Regions from separate parts of the Homo sapiens genome. Here region 1 is linked to region 2. The links are contacts of gene promoters, found by promoter capture Hi-C in human tissues and cell types (Jung and others, 2019). All regions are on one chromosome and are shown on one strand. The core of a region is centred on a gene start or on the middle of the fragment in contact, and the rest is flanking DNA. Distances in the headings are between cores, read along the strand shown.

Region 1 (2,700 bases), core at 161-2,660, 1.1 Mb before region 2:
TATTTTCTTGCTTCTTTGTAGGTCCAATAGCTTTAGATGACTGTAGACACTGTGAAAATTACATTAAGTGTCTGGATTTTGTCGTTATTTTTTAAAAGAATAGTAGACTGTCTTCTTTCATGCAGATAATTTACTTGTGGATCAGCTTTTTTAAGCTTTGTTAGGTTGGATGTACAGTATCTTTTACTCTACAGCTAATTTAGACCTACTCTTGAGGTATACCTTTCCGTTACCTCTACTGATTGCCTTGGTGGTTCAGGAGGGATGCTCCATTCTGGATGGCCAAAACTCTAATTGTCTCCCGAACCTCTGTTGAGCAATGTGAATTGTTCATCTTAGGCCAGGCACGGTGGTTCACACCTGTAATCCCAGCACTTTGGGAGGCCAAGGCAGGCGAATCACTTGAGGTCTGGAGTTTGAGACCAGCCTGGCCAATATGGTGAAACCCTGTCTCTACTAAAAACACAAAAATTAGCCAAGGTGGTAGCAGATGCCTGTAATCCCAGCTACTCAGGAGGCTGAGGCAGGAGAATCACTTGAACCCAGGAGGCAGAGGTTGTGGTGAGCCAAGATTGTGCCACTGCACTACAGCCTGAGCGACAGAGTAAGACTCCATCTCAAAAAAAAAAAAAAAAAAAAAGTTCATCTTACAGGCTTTTTGTTTTGTTTTGTTTTGTTTTTGTTTCTTGTCTTGCCTCATGGAGTCTCATGTGTTGGTTATTGGTTAGTGTTTGGCAACAGACTGAAGGAATCCCCAGTGCAGATTTTTGGGGCTGATTTTACTTCTCTTCAGAGTCTTTCCATGTATCTCCTCTTCACAATCTCCAACTAACTAAGCCTGCCTGAGCTTTTATGTTTCACCAACTCAGTTATGCTGTAAGGCTCTGCTTATATTCCCCCTCATTGCCATGCAGTTTGAAAAGTACTTTTACTAAGAAAGTTGGGAATTACAGGGTTTATCTTTATCAGTCTTGTGCAGCCTGTTGTCCAGTGTCTGAAGTAAGTTGTTTTATATATTTTTCCAGTTTTCTGGTTGTTCACAACAGAAGGATAAGTCCTATCCTGGTTACTCCACCATGGGCAGAGGCAAAGGTCTCCTTCCTTTTTGTATTTCTTATTTTTATTTTTTTTAGTGGTGGTAAAATACACATAAAATTCACCATCTTAACCATTTTCAAGTGTACAGTTAAGTGGCATTAAATACATTCACACTTTTGTGCAACTATCACCACCATCTATCTCCACAACTGTTTTCATCTTGCAAAACTGAAACTCTGTATCCATTAAACAATAATTCCCCATTTTTCCCTTCCCCACAACCTTTAAAACCCATTCCCCATGTTATTTTCTGTCTCTGAATTTGACTACTCTTGGTATCTCACTTAAGTGGAATCATATATTATTTGTCCTTTTATGACTGGCTTATTTCACCTCTCTTTGTTTTTAAAGGAAGTGTAACATTTGGTCTTTGCATCTAATGTTAGGATGATGGTTTGTAATACTCAAAATGTTCAAGCCAACAAGCTGATATGGTAGACAGTCACAGGGATATACATTGATGGTTTTCTGTAGCAGAGTGGCAGGGGGCAGGGTGTGGGGAAGATAGACTTCTGTGTGTTTTATTCCATAGCTTAACATTTATCAAACCTCATGTAAATCACTATAAACACTAAGAATGGAAAATTAAACTGTAGCATTGCCCATTCATATTTCTCTGGTTTAACAGACATTTTATGAGCACTGTGTTAGTCTGTTTTGCGTTGCTATAAAGGAATATCTGAGACTGGGCAATTTATGAAGATTATGAAGAAAAGAGGTGTTTTGGCTCATGGCTCTGCGGGCTGTACAATCATGGCACCAGCATCTGCTTGGCCTCTGCTGAGGCCTCAGGAAGCTTTTACTCATGGTGGAAGGTGAAAGAGGAACAGGCATGTCACATAAACAGAAAGAAAGCAAGGAGCAGGGAAGTTCCATGCTCTTCTTTAAACAGTTATCATGTGAATTAACAGAGTAAGAACTCTCTCATTACTGCAGGGAGGACACCAAGCCATTGATGAGGGATCTTCCCCCATGATCCAAACACCTCCCACTAGGCCCCACCTCCAACACTGGGGATCACATTTCAATATGAGATTTGGAAAGGACAAATATCCACACTATATCAAGCAGTAAAATCAGTAATTCTCTATCTCTCTTATGAGTTAATCTCAGGTCCTTCCTTACCAATGGCACCATCAGAACCGCATAAATTTCATACTTAATACCCTCTTGATTTAACATATACTTCCACAGGACCTTATTACTTTTTTGTTTGTTTGCTTTTGTTTTTAGAGACAGGGTCTCACTGTCACCCAGGCTAGAGTGAAGTGGTGTGATCATAGCTCATGGCTGCCTTGAACTTCTGAGCTTAAGTGATCCTTCTGCCTCAACCTCCAGAGAAGCTGGGACTACAGGCATGTGCCACCACACCCGGCAATTTTTTTTTTTTTTTTTTTTTTTTGTAGAGATGGGTTCTATGTTGACCAGGCTGGTCTCAAGCAATCCTCCTGTCATGGCCTCCCAAAGCACTGAGATTACAGGTATGAGCCACCATGCCCAGCAACACCTTATTTTTTATTTTTATTTTTTTTTTGAGATGGAGTCTCGCTGTCGCCCAGGCTGGAGTGCAGTGGCACGATCTCGGCTCACTGCAAGCTCTGC
Region 2 (2,700 bases), core at 141-2,640:
AGGAAATGGTCAAAGTGCAGGAGCAATTCAGGACGCGACTATCAGCTTTCAGGTGGGACCTGAGCCTGGCTGGCACTGGGGGGCGTGTCCATCAGCAGCTGGGCTTCTGACCTGAGCGGAGGCCTCAGCAGGCTGGGCGGGAGCACACGGGGCGTCAGAGGAGGGACACGCAGGAGGCTGGGCGGCAGCAGCTGGGTTGGCAGGAGGAGGTGGGAGCACAGCAGGAAGGGACGGGCACGCAGCAGGCGGGCCTGCACACGGGGCGGCAGAGGAGGGACACGGAGGAGGAGGGTCTGCAGCAGGAGGTGGTGCAGCAAGCTGGCTGGCAGCTAGATTGCTGGCAGCATGAAGAGGAAGCCCCAGAGCAAACAGGCACACAGCTCACAGGCTTGCAGCAGACGGGCACGCAGCAGCCCTGCTGGCTTTGGGAGGAGGTGCAGCAAGCTGGCTGGCAGCTAGACTGCTGGCAGCACAGAGAGGAAGCCCCAGAGCAGATGGGCACAGAGCAGACAGGCTTGCAGCACACAGGCTTGCAGCAGACAGGCACACAGCAAGCCTGCTGGCAGGGAGAGGAGGTGCAGCAAGCCGGCTGGCAGCTAGACTGCTGGCAGCATGAAGAGGAATCCTCAGAGCACACAGGCTTGCAGCAGACAGTCTTGCAGCAGACGGGCACGCAGCAGGCCTGCTGGCAGGAGGAGGAGGTGCAGCAAGCCGGCTGGCAGCTAGACTGCTGGCAGCACGAGGGCGTGCAGGAGCTGATGCAGCCTGATTGGCAGGGGCTGGGCTCACAGACCGCCTGGCAGCAGGGGCTGGACACACAGCTCACACAGCTAGACTGCTGGCAGCACGAAGAGGAAATCCCAGAGCAGACAGGCTTGCAGCAGATGGGCACACAGCAGGCCTGCTGGCAGGGGGAGGAGGTGCAGCAAGCTGACTGGCAGCTAGACTGCTGGCAGCATGAAGAATCCCCACAGCAGACGGGCACACAGCACACAGGCTTGCAGCAGACAGTCTTGCAGCAGACGGGCACGCAGCAGGCCTGCTGGCAGGGGGAGGAGGCACAGCAAGCCAGCTGGCAGCTAGACTGCTGGCAGCACGAGGGCGTGCAGGAGCTGGTGCAGCCTGATTGGCAGGGGCTGGGCTCACAGGTCACTGGGCAGCAGGGGCTGGACACACGGCTCACTGGGGTGCAGACCAGGCTCAGGCAGGGGGCCGGGGCGCAGCAGCTGGGGGCGCAGCAGGGGGGCTCGCAGCAGCTCTCTGGGCAGTCGTCCACCTGCCAGGAGTCGGAGCAAGAGTCACAGGAACCAGGAAGGCAGACGCGGCTGCTGTAGCTCAGGTCGCTGGAGCAGACGGACATGGTGGATGCTGCTGTGCTGGGGGTTGAGCTGGGGGAGATGGGAGGGAGTGGGTGAGCGAGTGAGTGAGGTGCTCGGGTTTGTGGGGCTTTTATACTCCTCCTTGGTGCATGTTGTCCAGACAGGAGGCTCAGCAAGCCCTCCCTTCCTTGTTGGGGTGTACAGCCAGCTCCAGGAGAATAAACAGTAGCTGTGTTTTTGTTTCCCAAGAGCTGTTGCTCAGTTTACAAAACTTGGAATTGGCCTGGGGCGCATGTGCGTGTTTTAGACTCAGGAGGAAGAGCTGAGGGGCAGTTCAGGCTGTGCTGCTTTGCTCCCCAGGCGCACGTGGAGGGTGGCATGGTCCACGTGTGTGCCGGGCTATGGGGAGTGGGTGCCTGCGGGTGGCTCTGCCGTGTGTGTGCTGGACTATGAGGAGTGGGTGCCTGTGGGTGGCTCTGCCGTGTGTGTGTGCCAGGCTATGGGGAGTGGGTGCCTACGGGTGGCTCCGCTGGGCCTTGGTTTTCTAGGCTGCTGAACAAGATCATGTGCCTCTGTGATTGAAAGCTTAGGGAGAGAGGTTTGTTTGGGTTCTAAGTAAAGATAATGTGAGTCATGGTTTGTATGCTGTAATGTATTCTTTTCCTTGGGCTGCCATGACAAACAGTACCACAAACTGGCTGGTCACACAACAGAAATTCCGTGTCTCATGGTTTTGGAAGCCAGAAGTCTGAGATCGAGGTGTGGACAGTGGACAGCATGGGTTCCTTCTGAGGCTGCGAGGGGCACTGTCTCACCCCGCTCCCCTCACTCCTGTGGGCTGCTGCTATCTTTGGGGTCCTTGGCTTACAGTGGCCTCACCTGAGCTCTGCCTTTATCTTCACACAGCTTCTCCGTGTGTGTGTGTGTGTGTGTGTGTGTGTGTGTGTGTGTGTGTGTGTGTGTGTCCAAATCTCCCCTTTTTATAAGGATACAAAGCATTATTGCAGTAGGGCCTATCCTAACAGCCTCCTCTTAACTTGATCACCTACAAAGACCCTATTTCCATATAGGGTCACATTCACATGTACCAGCGGTCAGGACTTCGGCACCTTTTGAGGGACACAATTCAATCCACAGCAAGCAGACACAATGGCAGAACCTGGGATGAGGACGTGGGCACGGGAGCAGAACCCGGGATGGGAAGGCAAGCACGGCAGAAGTGTTTCTTGTGGACTTGGGCCTGGGGCAGGTGGAGCATGGGGGGTGGCGAGGGTAGCACAGGACAGCAGGTGCCCAGCACTGGGCACTCAGCAGCCTTTGCTTGTGAGGTGTGGCTTGACCTCGTGGAATGGTTTTAGGGAATAGTGGCTGAAAAGCGGGG

What was found. The method cuts DNA at HindIII sites, captures the fragments that hold promoters and counts their contacts. A contact is called where the count stands out against the background at its distance.
Region 1: a fragment that was not itself captured here is called in contact with the fragment with the promoter of KRTAP10-4 in region 2 in 1 of the 25 tissues and cell types used here (lymphoblastoid cells).

Annotation. Positions count from the first base shown.
Region 1 is chr21:45,683,856-45,686,555 of GRCh38, reverse strand. The region is part of intron 2 of PCBP3 (poly(rC) binding protein 3); the gene reads right to left. Among named protein-coding and RNA genes, the nearest start is that of PCBP3, 41 kb to the right of the region's middle. The HindIII fragment of the contact is 5,038 bases long and covers 1-2,700 here.
Region 2 is chr21:44,572,419-44,575,118 of GRCh38, reverse strand. It overlaps KRTAP10-4 (keratin associated protein 10-4), which reads right to left and starts at 1,390. Exons shown (of 1, transcript NM_198687.2): 1 at 1-1,390. The coding sequence starts at 1,360. The coding sequence ends at 155. The region is part of intron 1 of TSPEAR (thrombospondin type laminin G domain and EAR repeats); the gene reads left to right. RefSeq lists enhancers at 139-657, 658-1,175. The HindIII fragment of the contact is 6,773 bases long and covers 1-2,700 here.